Regions from separate parts of the Homo sapiens genome. Here regions 2, 3, 4 and 5 are each linked to region 1. The links are contacts of gene promoters, found by promoter capture Hi-C in blood cells and fetal thymus (Javierre and others, 2016). All regions are on one chromosome and are shown on one strand. The core of a region is centred on a gene start or on the middle of the fragment in contact, and the rest is flanking DNA. Distances in the headings are between cores, read along the strand shown.

The links. Contacts are between HindIII fragments. The CHiCAGO score rates a contact against its expected background, and 5 or more counts as called.
Region 2: a contact is called between a fragment that was not itself captured here and the fragment with the promoter of MED14 in region 1, in 15 of 17 cell types (naive CD8 T cells, total CD8 T cells, naive CD4 T cells and 12 more). The highest score is 13.0, in naive CD8 T cells.
Region 3: a contact is called between a fragment that was not itself captured here and the fragment with the promoter of MED14 in region 1, in 4 of 17 cell types (neutrophils, naive CD8 T cells, total CD4 T cells and 1 more). The highest score is 7.8, in neutrophils.
Region 4: a fragment that was not itself captured here is called in contact with the fragment with the promoter of MED14 in region 1 in 2 of 17 cell types (M2 macrophages and M1 macrophages); the score reaches 5.4 in M2 macrophages.
Region 5: a contact is called between a fragment that was not itself captured here and the fragment with the promoter of MED14 in region 1, in 2 of 17 cell types (neutrophils and erythroblasts). The highest score is 5.3, in neutrophils.

What each region holds. Positions count from the first base shown.
Region 1 is chrX:40,734,251-40,736,950 of GRCh38, forward strand. MED14 (mediator complex subunit 14) reads right to left here and starts at 1,292. Exons shown (of 31, transcript NM_004229.4): 1 at 948-1,292. The coding sequence starts at 1,162. It overlaps MED14OS (MED14 opposite strand), which reads left to right and starts at 1,440. Exons shown (of 2, transcript NR_169211.1): 1 at 1,440-1,540. RefSeq lists enhancers at 662-1,583, 1,584-2,504 and silencers at 900-1,279, 1,540-1,629. The HindIII fragment of the contact is 3,630 bases long and covers 785-2,700 here.
Region 2 is chrX:41,118,405-41,121,104 of GRCh38, forward strand. The region is part of intron 1 of USP9X (ubiquitin specific peptidase 9 X-linked); the gene reads left to right. Among named protein-coding and RNA genes, the nearest start is that of USP9X, 34 kb to the left of the region's middle. The HindIII fragment of the contact is 1,388 bases long and covers 679-2,066 here.
Region 3 is chrX:41,146,885-41,149,584 of GRCh38, forward strand. USP9X (ubiquitin specific peptidase 9 X-linked) reads left to right here. Exons shown (of 45, transcript NM_001039591.3): 12 at 1,485-1,691. Among named protein-coding and RNA genes, the nearest start is that of USP9X, 63 kb to the left of the region's middle. The HindIII fragment of the contact is 4,811 bases long and covers 1-2,700 here.
Region 4 is chrX:40,996,035-40,998,734 of GRCh38, forward strand. No RefSeq gene overlaps it. Among named protein-coding and RNA genes, the nearest start is that of USP9X, 88 kb to the right of the region's middle. RefSeq lists an enhancer at 982-1,276 and a silencer at 1,041-1,100. The HindIII fragment of the contact is 875 bases long and covers 947-1,821 here.
Region 5 is chrX:41,242,557-41,245,256 of GRCh38, forward strand. No RefSeq gene overlaps it. Among named protein-coding and RNA genes, the nearest start is that of LINC02601, 32 kb to the right of the region's middle. The HindIII fragment of the contact is 3,284 bases long and covers 1-2,700 here.

The DNA of each region.
Region 1 (2,700 bases), core at 42-2,541:
ACTTTTTTCTGTCCCATTCAAAAAAGTACAATACATCAAAACTGAGAATGACGTTTTACAGGAGTTAAGTAGAGCCTACTCTTTCAGTCATCTGCAAACAAGTATCTGTTATCAGTCTCTAAAAACAAATTACTGTGACGCTTTAGAGCCTAATATCTGCATACTAATGTATCTCAATTGATAACCCTGATCTGAAGTCTTGCAATAGATAAAAAATAAAATTCTGATTAACTTTTTCTGAACCTGGGTTATAAGATGTACAACAGAGTCCCAAAATGTTACGGTGCCTTTTCTTCACACACTGAAATTCGTTAGTATATTCTGATCCTATTCTGAAGGGATTAACAACTTAATCATGCCCCAAGGCATTTCATGGGTAACTAGGTGATTTATAAACCCCCTTCATACTCCAAGAAATAACAGACTACTTACAAAAAAATTTTACTCACACTAACTTCATTAAGACCTCAAACACTCAAAAGTTCCAGAAAAAAAGTACTTTGAATTCAAATTTGTATTTTATACACAACGTATGTAGCTCCTGCATTAACTTAGAAGCAATAACAGCTTACATTTAAAACGTATCGTCAAGAGGCTGTAATACAAATTTCCCATCTATAGAGTTTTTTCTAAAAGCTCGAATATTATGTATTCCAGCCAAGAAATCAAGAGAGTTCTGTTGGGAACTCGGACAAAAATTTCACACAATTTTCAGTGGAAGTGTAACAACACGCAAAATTAACAAGTCTCTGTTGCATCGTTGCCAGGAAGACCCCAGATACAAAGCTTCTTCTCCACCTCTGCTGAACCCCAGGAGTTCAAAAATTCTAGACTAAGCAGTCCAGCGGAGAACACAGCAGCCTCTCGGGGAGAGGGAGGTGCAAACGTCTCAGCCGGTTGGGCGGGAAGGGGGGCTGGGGAACAGGCAGGGGTTTCGGGGCACTTACAGGTCCGTCAACACCATAAGCTCCGAGTAGGCCCGGTGCAGCAGAAATTCAATGAGGGTGCTCAGCCGGTAGCCCGGGCTAGCCGCAGCTGCAGCGGCCGCCGCCACGGCGGCTCCCGGGGGAGGAGGGGCTGGGGCTGACGGGGGTCCGCCGCTGCCCCCGCCGCCGCCTCCGGGCGGGACCAGCTGGTGGTTCTCCAGCTGCACTGGGGCCATGGCGGCGCAGGACCGGGCTTGGCGCAACGGCACACGATGCGGTCCTCGAGCCTCCCGGGCGCTCGGTCACCGCGCCGAAACGGGAGCGGGCAGAGTCGCCACCGCCTACCGCCGGGCCGCCTCAGAACAGGAAGCCGTGCGCCGACCGCGGAAGCCCGCCCCCATGTAGCGAGAAGTCCGCCGACCCCAGGGACAGGAGCGAGGGGCGGGGGGAGGCGGGGATGGGGGGGAAGCAGGGCGGCCCCGCAGAGGGGAAGCTGCGCCTCCGCAAACGCTCAGAAGCAGCTTCGCCAGACAGCCGCAACGTACATGTTGACTGCCCGAGGCGGAAGTCGATCGGCAGAGCGGAAGGGGGACCTGCAGAGGACCTTCCGACAGGTCTGTGTCTGTTCTCTCAGCTGTCTAGCACCGCAGCGCTGGGGGGCGCGTGGGAGTGAGGCGGTACCTGTGAGCGCGCGGGAGAGCGGAAAAGGGAGCCGCGCGCCGCCGGAAACCAGGGTGAGGGCTGAGCCGGAGTCGTCACCGGGAACGTCAGCAGTTGCCCCGCCCTTACCCTCGCCGCTCTCCCTCCCGCCTCCGCCCCCTGGCGTTGTAAAGGCGACAATTTGCCCAGAGAAATCCACCATCGCTTCCTAAGTGGGGCACAAACACAGCCAGGGGAGGCCTCCTCTAAATGTTCGTGAATTCTGGTTCTGGAATCGCGAAGAAATGGGAGCGGCCGCGCGCTTGTGATTCTCAGGCCTTTGCTCCTCCCATACACGTCCACGGCGCGTTACGTGGGAGAACGTTTTCGCCCCTTTTTTTTTTTTTCCAAACTGTGGGAAAAGGTGCTAGAAAATATGATTGCGGGTAGAGACAGGGCCGCTGGCAGAGTAACTCAATTTTAATAGAGTCGGGTGTATGCTGAGGTCGTCACCATCCCCCAAATCCTGTCAGTCCCACACAAAAACGGCCCTTAAATCCCCTGCCACGGGCTCTCATATAGTTTTTGTCCTTGCTCTTGCAGTCACCGCTCTATTCTGAAGGGCTTTTCAGTTCATCCATGCCTACCGACACTCCCGTCCCCCCCATCAAAGTCCACGTTTAATTTTTTGTACCTGCTTTAAAACAGCGATTCTCAACCTTGGCTGCACTTTGCAATTATCTGAGGAGCTGTTTTTTAAAAAAATACTTAGATATATGGGTTCCACCCCTGTAGATTCAGATTTAATTGGTCTGGCTTGAGGTCTGGGCTTGGGGAATTTTTGAACTTTCCTAAGGTGATTCTAACATGCCCTAACGTAGAGATTCACTATTAGAAGCATTCGTTGCTGCGACCCCTTTCAAACATCTTTTTGCAGTTTCATCTCCTCTTGGTGTAAGAGATGTTCATGATGTTCCCTAAGGTTAGAATATTCTTACTGTCATCACTTGGGTAATTCTTTATCATTGTTGAAAGCGGTTCATCTGCTTCTGAAGGTGTAAGCTCACTTGTTCCCTCCCTTGGTGGTCCTAAAGCACATTGAAACAGAATATCATTGTGCTAGTTATTAAAATGC
Region 2 (2,700 bases), core at 123-2,622, 380 kb after region 1:
TTCACTTAGCATGATGTCCTCAAGGTTCACCCATATCGTAGCACCTGTCAGAATTTCCTTTCTTTTTAAAAAATACTAAATAATCCACTGAACATAGGTACCACATTTTGTTCGTCCTTGTATTGCTTCCTGGAAAGACTTTTAAAAGAGACACAGTATTGGCTTAGTAGACAAGGTGATCTCCCTGGCCCCCTACTTGCCCCACACTTGGGAATATATAGTCGCTAACCTCATCACTCTCAGGAGGAGATGGTAGGGAGTGGAGGTTGTATTTATTTTCGGGAAAAAAAACAGACTCCCAGGTGGTGCTGATGAATCCATCTCTTCCTACCCTTTTGTGAATAGTTGAATCTGTGTTCAAGATTCCCAAGTTTTGCCTGAATTCTAGACGTGTAGAGCCAACTCTCTAGTGGTTTTCACCTCAGTTTCAATGTTAAGAACTGTACGAACTGCCACTCTACCCCTTTCCTTGGAAGAGAAGTGGACGGGAAACCTGGAGTCCAGGATTATATAAGCCAAGGAAGCTCAGAGTTTCAAGAAGGGAGAGGTGGTCAGTGTCTAATGATGAGAAGAGGGCAAACAGGATGAATATTGAGAAGCAGTTATTTGATTTGTCAGTAAGTAGAACATTGATCTGTGGACCTTCTTCTCATGCGTCCCCTAATGCACATACTCAAAAGCTTTGTATGTAATTTTTAGGGGAATTAATCTTGAAGCCCATCCCTACGTCTCGATTAAGACCTTCTGGCTTAAAGCAGTTTTAGTTTTAGTAGCTTTGGATGGAGCCAGGTGATGAGAGAGAATGGACAAAGTGGAAGGTGAGATGGGCGGGGCATGGTGGCTCACATCTGTAATCCTAGCACTTTGGGAGGCCAGGGAGGAGAATTGCTTGAGCCCAGGATCTCGTGACCAGCCTGGGTCTCAAAACAACAACAACAAAAAACCCAAAATTTACAACTTACCTACTTTGTCTTCATCACATTTATTTAAAAAGAAAGAGAAGGGGGAAATGGAGACAGTCTTACGACTTGTGGGAAAAGGGAAGGGCAGACACTGGTGATTTTCAGTAGGGAAGATTCAAGCACAGGCTGGGAAAAGATTGATTGGGGATGATGATGATTGGAGCATCATCCCTTGGAGAGGGTATACAATGGGATCATGACCCCAAGCTGAGGGACAAGAAAAAGAAGAAACTGGAGCAGATTTGAAGTAGACAAGAATAAAGTTGAATTGGTTAGCTAATATTTTGAGTGCCAAGAAAATAATTATTCACATATTAGCCAGGTGTGGCAGCACGAGCCTGTAGTCCCAGCTACTCGGGAGGCTGAGGCAGGAGAATTGCTTGAACCCGGGAGGCGGAGGTTGCGGTGAGCCAAGATTGCGCCACTGCACTCCAGCCTGGGTGACAGAGCGAGACTCCGTCTCAAAAAAGAAAATAATCATTCACATAATTTGTCAGCAGACCCAAAGTGGCTAAGGAAAATGATATGCAAGTTTCTCAAGGTTTTGAAAATTGTCTGCTTCACGTAACACTCTTTGTAATTTAGGGTGTATAAAATGGATAACAAAAGCGAAAGAGGGACTGCTTAAATCAGACTTTTTCATTTTTTTTTTCCACTTTATGTATTTAAAGAGCTTCTATGTCTTTAGACTCACCAGTACTTGATAGTATCAGTCTTAAAACTTTGTTTTGCTTCGCCAGTTTGATCAGTGGAACAAATTTTGGTTTTGTAATTTGCATTTTCGCAATTACTAATGAGGTTGAGAGGCAGGCTAGTGTAGCATTTAAGAGCTATGGACTCCCTGGGTTGGAATCCCATTTTGCCACTTAGTACTTACTGATACGGTAATTTACTTTTGCTCTCTGTGCCTCCCTTTCCTTACCTGTAAAGAGGGATGATACTAGTTCCTACTGTATACATTTGTAAGGATTACGGTGCTACAAACAGTGCCTAACATGCGAAAAGCTCTATTTTAAAATTATGTCTTATTTCATGTATTTATTAGTCACTTCTATTTCTTTTTGAGAAGTCTATCTTCATATCTGTTTTTCTACTTCTCCCTGAAGCTTCTGAATTTTGCCTAGAGGAGGACATATCTTTTTTGTGTGTGTGACAGAGTCTCGCTCTGTTGCCCAGGCTGCAGTACAGTGGTGCCATCTCGGCTCACTGCAAGCTCTGCCTCCCAGGTTCACGCCATTCTCCTGCCTCAGCCTCTCCAGGTAGCTGGGACTACAGGTGCCCGCCACCACGCCCGGCTAATTTTTTGTATTTTTAGTAGAGACGGGGTTTCGCCATGTTAGCCAGGATGGTCTTGATCTCCTGACCTCATGATCCGCCCGCCTCAGCCTCCCAAAGTGCTGGGATTACAAGCGTGAGCTACCGCGCCCAGCCAACATATCTTAACAAATCAGTTTTTGTGTGTGCTTTAGTCAAGTTTTTTTTTTTTTTTTGAGACAGGGTCTCGCTGTGTTGCCCAGGCTGGAGTGCAGTGGCCCCATTTCATCTCACTGCTACCTCCGCTTCCTGGGTTCAAGTGATTCTCCTGACTCAGCCTCCTCAGTAGCTGGGACTACAGGGGTGAGCCACCATGCCTGGCTAATTTTTTTTTTTTTTGTATTTTTAGTAGAGATGGGGTGTCACCACGTTGGCCAGGCTGGTTTTGAACTCCTGACCTCAAGTGATTCGCTTGCCTTTGGCC
Region 3 (2,700 bases), core at 153-2,652, 410 kb after region 1:
TTTGTATGTCTAAAAGATGAGTACATGAAAAAATTCACGATACCATTATCTACCTAAAAAACAATAATTCCTTAATATCATAAAATAGTTTTAAAACTTCCAGTTGTCTTAGATCATACATCTTCATTTTAGAAGTGAGTTTTAATCAGGATCCTGGTGCAGTCCATGTGTATGTCTTTTAAGTCTCTTTGAAACTAGCTTTCTTCTTTTTTACTTCCCTTGCAATTTATTTGTTGAAGAAACTGGATTGTTTGTTGCCTTGGTGTCTGTCAATAGTTTTGATACAGAAGGTTTTTTTTTTTTTTAATTTTACTAGAGCATATCTCAAGTGGTGGTGTGCTTTTCCTTGAGGAGGAATACCTAGTTGTCTCTCTTTTTATAATGTTAGCTAGAGGTTTTTAATTGTAATCTGATATTTTAGTCTTACATTTTTAGCAGTTGTCATATTCCTTTTGTTATTTTGTGTAGGCTGGAAGGAAATAAAAACAGGCATTCACATCATCTTTGAAGACGTACCATATTAATAATTCCATTGAACTAATCTTCTCTCATTAACTTAATCGTTGTTTTTTTTTTTTTTTTTTTTGGAGACAGAGTCTCACTCTGTCACCCAGACTGGAGTGCAGTGGCGCGATCCCAGCTCACTGCATCCTCCACTTCCTGGATTCAAGCAATTCTCCTGCCTCAGCCTCCCAAGTAGCTGGGATTACAGGCATGCGCCACCACGCCCAGCTAATTTTGTATATTTAGTAGAGATGGGGTTTCACCATGTTAGCCAGGCTGATCTTGAACTCCCGACCTCAGGTAATCTACCTGCCTGGGTCTCCCAAAGTGCTGGGATTATAGGCGTGAGCCACCGTGCCCGGTCAGCTTAATCGTTCTTCTGCTGTTTGACGTTAAGTTCGTTTCAGTTTATTTTCTAATAAACACTGATCAGCAACTTAGTGCATTTGCTGCTGCTATAACAGAACACCACAGACTGGGTAATTTATAAAGAACAGAATTTTATTTGGCTTATGATTCTGGAGGTTGGGAAGTACAAGAGGCATGGTGCCAGCTTAACCGTGAGTTTTGGGGGGGACATTCGAACCATAGCAGTAACTTTACTCATAAAACTTTTCCCATATTGCTTAGCAGCATCCCTGGTCTCTACTCACTAAATGCCATTAGTACCCTGCCCTTCCCCAAGCATGATAACCATGTTGTATTACAATACCATTTTAGAGGTTTTAAAAAAATGTATTTTAGAGTTTTTAATTGGGTGTCTTCTAAATTGAAATAGTGTATCATTTATTTTTCTTTTTTGGAATTTAACTCTACCCTATAAAAAAAATACCAGGCTAACTATATTTTCAGATCTCACTTGAATCATTCTGTGCTTAGCTACGTTGCTTTTGATGAATTTGAATATAGTTAACCTGGTGACAATTTATGAAGTGGTGACTAAATATGTGTTGTTTTCATGTCACTTAATTTTTTTCTAGGCCAGTTGGACAAATGCGAGTAAAAAGCAACGTGAAAAGCTACTTGAGCTGATACGTCGTCTTGCAGAAGATGATAAAGATGGTGTGATGGCACACAAAGTGTTGAACCTTCTGTGGAATCTGGCTCACAGTGATGATGTGCCTGTAGATATCATGGACCTGGCTCTCAGTGCCCACATAAAAATACTAGATTACAGTTGCTCCCAGGTAAGAGTGTACTGCTTTGCTCACTTTTTGTGACTTTTCCCCTTCAGTTAGGTTGGCTTAGTTACAGGATAGTTCTGTTACTCTGACATTGTTAGTTTTTAAATGATCTTCCGGAGTTGACTTTTTTTGTTCATTAGTCTGCTTTCCTTAGGATCTGTACATCAAGGTTTTGTGACTCATCTGAAAAGCATTTTAGTCTCCTTGGGAGAAAGTATAAACAGAACAGATTATACAGTGGTGGCATTATCAAGTGTATGGTTCTGAAATGCCGTTTCGAATAGAATTCGAATGTTAAAGCTGATAGGGACTTCAGAGGGAAGAGAAATTAGGTTTTCTTTGCTCATAGGGAAGTTAAGAAAAATTAATAGAATTTCCTAACCATTAAAACATTTAGTGCCTCCACAGTGAGCAAATCACACAGTTTCCCTACATTCTAATTTGTGGCATGTGTATTTTTTAACACATGGTAAAGTGAACATTGCTGAGTAATTTCTCACATGTTAATAAAACTATTTGTTACACTGATGAACTGGTATTTAGGTAAGAGCCAAGAAAAGCTCAGGAAGGTGTATTAATGTAGATACTACTCAGGTTTTGACTATGTTTACTTGTGACAGTTCGGTAAGTATTTATTCAGCAAATTAAATAGTAATAAGGGCCTTGAGTATAAATTATTTCATTAAACCAAGGGTCCTTCTGAGGAGTCTTGAAATCAGAGCAGTACATTTGCTATCAGGGCTTTTAACTAGTAACTTCTTTTTTAAATATCTATTAGTATCAGTGCCTGGCATAGTGATGTACACATTCATTCATGAATAGTTACTGAGTTTCACTGAATTTAGTAGACTGTTGCCTTTTTTCAACTTCAACTTTCATTTATTGTTTGGGAAAAAATTTTTAAAAGTCATTTTCCAACTGTCACCTTTTCCCTTCTGCTTGCCAAAACTGTTGTCAAAGTGTACATTTGATCATAAATGTTTTCATGGCCTTAAAAATGTACACACTATTA
Region 4 (2,700 bases), core at 134-2,633, 260 kb after region 1:
AAGAAAAGAAAAATCTATCAGTGCTTTCCTTTCATCCAATCCTCAATTGAAAATGAAGAGTTGAGACTTTTCTTGGCGATAGGACATTCCTGGTCTTTTTTCTTTTCTTTTTCTTTTCTTTTTTTTCTCTTTTTTTTTTTTTTTTGAGACAGGCTCTCGCTCTGTCACCGAAGCTGAAGTGCAGTGGTGATCACAGCTCACTGCAGCCTGGACCTCCTGGGCTTCAGGGTCAAGCAATCCTCCCACCTCAGCTCCCTGAGTAGCTGGGACCACAAACATGCTCCACCATGTCCGGCTAATTTTTTAATTTTTTGTAGAGACCTGGGTCCTCCTATGTTGCCCAGGCTGGTCTCAACTCCTGGGCTCAAGTGATCCTCCAGGCCTCCCAAAGTGCTGGGATTACGAGCATGAGCCACTGCACCAGGCCTTTCCTAGTCTTTTTTTTTTTCCAGAGTTTCGCCTCTGTTGCCCAGGCTGGAGCGCAATGGCACAATCTCAGCTCACTGCAAACTCCGCCTCCCGGGTCCAGGTGATTCTCCTGCCTCAGCCTCCTGAGTAGCTGGGATTACAGGCGCTTGACACCATGCCTGGCTAACTTTTTGTATTTTTAGTAGAGACGGAGTTTCGCCATGTTGGCCAGGCTGGTCTGACCTCAGGTGATCCGCCCGCCTCCGCCTCCCAAAGTGCTGGGATTACAGGTGTGAGCCACTGCACCAGGCCTCTTCTAGTCTTTTGATCAAAATTATCTCCAATTCTGCCTAAGTGTCTGTGTTTTTCGTTAGAATATAGTTTTGGCTGTTGTCTCTGAGAACCAAAATAACAATGTCTTACGATAAAGAAAGCAGAGCATTTCTCCCTCTGGGCATATGTAGTCCAGAGCTGCTCTTTCAGCACCATGGTGGTTCCTGGGCTCCTCCTGTGTTATGAAATTGCCATCCCTGAGTGAAGCTTTGTCCACATGGTCCCAGATGGCTCATTACCACATCCCTCTTCCAACCAGCAAGAAGGGCAAAGAGGAAGCAGATAGCAAGCTCTGCTCCTTTAGGGACATGATCCAGAAGTTGCATACATAAGTTCTGCTCACATATAGTTGGCCAGAATGTAGTCACATGACCACATCTAGCTATAAGGGAGGCTGGGTAATGTAGTCTCTATTCTGGGAAGCCATTTTACCTTCTTAAATTCGGGGTTTCTATTGCTACCAAAAAATGAACAAAAAGGATTTGGGGGAACAAATAGCAATCTAGTCACAATCTCCCATTTTGAAACTTAGAAGTTTTCAATTTGGCTAAGAAAAAAAAAAATTCCCTCCTCCGGCAAGAGAAAAAAAAAAAGGAACTTCCCCCCTTTTCTCTTCCTTAACTTGGTAGCTCCCACAGAGGAATGGTTTTTAATGCTAAGCAATGAAAGCAAACGGAAAAAAGGCTGCTGGAATTTGGAGTATTTCTTTGTAATCAAGAATGCCTTGAGATATCAGGCTAGGACCTAAAGACCAACCTGAATTTTGTAATTGAACGTCTGTGTCTGCAGCAAAAGCACAGAACATTTTTAGATGCAGATAGTATCAGATCACCATCTGGACTATAAATAATTTATACATTTCAGATACCTGGGAATCACATGGGCCAGGAACAAATAAGGTACTAAATCTCAGTGAGAAAAAATATCTCCAAACATTGTATCTGTGAATCCAATTTAAAGTCGAATGATGGTTTGGAGAATTGAATAAAAATACAGGAAAGATCTCTATTGCTTACGTAAAATTGAATTCGCATTATTTTTTATTTTAAAAAATATACAAAGGAAAGGCTGAACAAATTAAGCTTAATTCTCCACAATCCAGTCATGGGGTGGGTGGGTTGGGGGCAACTAGAATTGATTCCATATCCAATCCCCTGTCTTTGGGTTCTAGAGGTAAGACGCTTATCAGATCCTCTCCAAGTAGTGACTTTGCACATTGGGCCGCAACTTTGTAAAACATGATCACTCTTTTGACTATTTTTGAGAGAGCTTGCTGAGGCATCTGACTGAGTACACTTAGAGAATGACAAAACATGGCAGAAAGAGAGTCTGGAGGCTGATTCCGGGTTGGCAGTGGGAGGATGAAACAGAACACTGGGCTGCCCCAAATCCAATGGATGGGGCACGGACAGGGGCCAGGGTTCAGTTGGGCATTGCCAGAAAGTCACAACAGATGTTCTTTCAGAGTGGAGCCAGGAGCCTGAAACCTACAAATGAACTCGGTTAGGAGCTGGCAAGATAACTTGCCCACTGACCTTCACCAAGTACTTGTCGGTGGCCTTGCTCAGCCTTTACAGGCCCAGCCATCCACCTGCCAACCTCTCTCTGGACAGTGCCTTAAAGGCTGCACAGAGGAAGTTTCAGCATTGTACTCTCTGGAATGGAGTCTAGTGAGGTGGTTGGGCATGTTTCTGTGTTTTTGAGAAATGGGTGATCACGTGAGGTCCCTCTGAATTGGAATACGTGTGAACACAAATAAGTGTCTTTAATCACTTAGAATTTTTGTTTTATATTTATTCAAAGAATTCTTTTAGACTTATCTAGACATTTGTTTTTCTCATATATCACTTTTGGACATACCTTAAAAAAGAAAATTTAAGTTGGTTAAAGTATTCCTAAAACTTCTTTACATTCAGAACCCAGCTTTTCTGAATCAACTTTTAAAAATTGAGATGCAAC
Region 5 (2,700 bases), core at 111-2,610, 510 kb after region 1:
TTCGAGACCAGCCTGGCCAACATGGTAAAACTCTGTCTCTACTAAAAATACAAAAATTAGCCAGGCGTGGTGGCATGCACTTGTAATCCCAGCTACTTAAGAGGCCGAGGCAGGAGAATCACTTGAACCCGGAAGGCAGAGGCTGCAGTGAGCTAAGATCATGCCACTGCACTCCAGCCTGGGTGACAGAGACTCCGTCTCAAAAAAAAAAAAAAAAAAACTTAATTGTGCTGTCATAATCACTCAGGAATAATAATGCTGCAAAGATGTTATGGGACTGAAGAAACAATGTAAAGAAAGGAGGTGGCCGGGCGCGGTGGCTCACGCCTGTAATCCCAGCACTTTGGGAGGCTGAGGCGGGCAGATCACAAGGTCAGGAGATCTAGACCATCCTTGCTAACACGGTGAAACTCCGTCTCTACTAAAAATACAAAAAATTAGCCGAGCGTGGTGGCGGGCACCTGTAGTCCTAGCTACATGGGAGGCTGAAGCAGGAGAATGGCGTGAACCCGGGAGGCGGAGCTTGCAGTGAGCCAAGATCACGCCACTGCACTCCAGCCTGGGCGACAGAGCGAGACTCCGTCTCAAAAAAAAAAAAAAAAAGGAGGTGAGGGTGGCCATCACAACTGAGGCACAGGTTCTACACGTGTGAAGTACACTTTGCCTTAAATTGTGTTCTCTCCCAGTTGCTCTCTTGATTTGAATATGGGTGATTGAGTCCAACTTGACCTCTGGAAAACTCATCACTCCAGGTGCACAATCATTAATCAGGTCTAAAGTAAATAGTTTGGAGAAATCCTAGTGTCAGGCATATCCTTGCTGGGGTTTTCTGGATGTACTCAGTGTCTTTTTTATAAGAAAAGCCAGCTTTCTTACAGACCGTTGATGCAACTCTCACGTTCAAAAAAAAAAAAAAGGAGGGGGGCGGGGGGCGGATGCTGTGGCTTACACCTGTAATCCCAGCACTTTGGGAGGCCGAGCGGGGGGCGGGGGGGGGGGGGTGGATCACCTGAGGTCAGGAGTTCGAGACCAACCTGTCCAACATAGCGAAACCCCGTCTCTACTAAAAAATATAAAAATTAGCTGGGCGTGGTGGCGGGTGCCTGTAGTCCCAGCTACTCAGGAGGCTGAGGCAGGAGAATCACTTGAACCTGGGACGTGGAGGTTGCAGTGAGCCGAGATCGCACCACTGCACTCCAGCCTGGGTGACAGCGAGACTGTCTTGTGGAAAAAAAAAAAAAAGTCAACCAATAAAATCTGTTAGCTTAGAATTAAAATGGAAAAATTGGTAAGTTTAGGATTGCATCGTTACCTGGATAGGTGGATGCAACCCAAAGTGGTTGGTTGGTGTTGTTGGCTTTTCAGTTGCTTCCTTGTATTTACCGTTTTCTTTTCTTTTCTTTTCTTTCTTTCTTTTTTTTTTTTTTTTTTTTTTGAGACAGAGTTTCACTCTTGTTGCCCAAGCTGGAGTGCAATGGCGTGACTTTGACTCACTGCAACCTCTGCCTCCCAGGTTCAAGCGATTCTCCTGCCTCAGCCTCCTGAGTAGCTGGGATTACAGGCATGCGCCACCATGCCCAGCTAATATTTGTATTTTTAGTAGAGACGGGGTTTCATCACGTTGGTCAGGCTGGTCTCGAACTCCCGACCTCAGGTGATCCGCCCGCCTCGGCCTCCCAAAGTGCTGGGATTATAGGCGTGAGCCACCGCGCCCAGCCAATATTTACTCTTTTCTTTAATATTTTATACATTCAGATTTTGAACATATACACATTCAAGGAATATTATCTTGCCCAACTCTGGTTACTTTTCTTTGTATTTTGTTTGAATTAATTTTCATTGAAAATGACTGGATTCTTTGCTGTTGCAGTGCTCCTGTACACTTGAACTTGGTTTCCTTTTCCTCATGGTACTAAGTCAAAGATAGCAAGGGCTGCAGTGGCCCTTAAGAAAGGACTGGAGGCCAGGCGCGGTGGCTCACGCCTGTAATCTCAGCACTTTGAGAGGCCGAGGCAGGTGGATCACCTGAGGTCAGGAGTTCGAGACCAGCCTGGCCAACATGGTGAAACCCTGTCTCTACTAAAAAAAAAAAAAAGGTTTTTGCGAAACTTTAAAAATACAGAGAAATGGCTGGGCTCAGTGGCTCACGCCTGTAATCCCAGCACTGTAGGAGGCTGAGGTGGGCGGATCACGAGGTCAGGAGTTCGAGACCAGCCTGGCCAACATGGCAAAAATCCGTCTCTACTAAAAATACAAAAATTAGTCGGGCATGGTAGCATATGCCTGTAATCCCAGCTATTTGGGAGGCTGGGCAAGCTAATGGCTTCAACCCAGGAGGCAGAGGTTGCACTGAACCGAGATCCAGCCACTGCACTCCAGCCTGGGCGACATTTCCCCCATCCTCCATTCCATTCCCTTCCCCTACACCAGAAGCAAGCACCATCATGATTCAATGTGTATCCTTCAAGCACAGTTTTTAATGGTGCCCAGCTTTGCTGACAGATGGCCCATTCAGGATGCCACATCAACCCTAAGATAGGGACTTCACAGGGAAAACTGGAAGTGGCGTTTCTCCAGCAAAGGACCAAGAGGATCTTACTTAGTGAATTCCAAAACAAAGAAAATAATCTGCTGCTAACATCAGGAATACTGCTAACATCGTGTGAGCAAAATGGCTGTAACAGAGTATATCCTAGACAA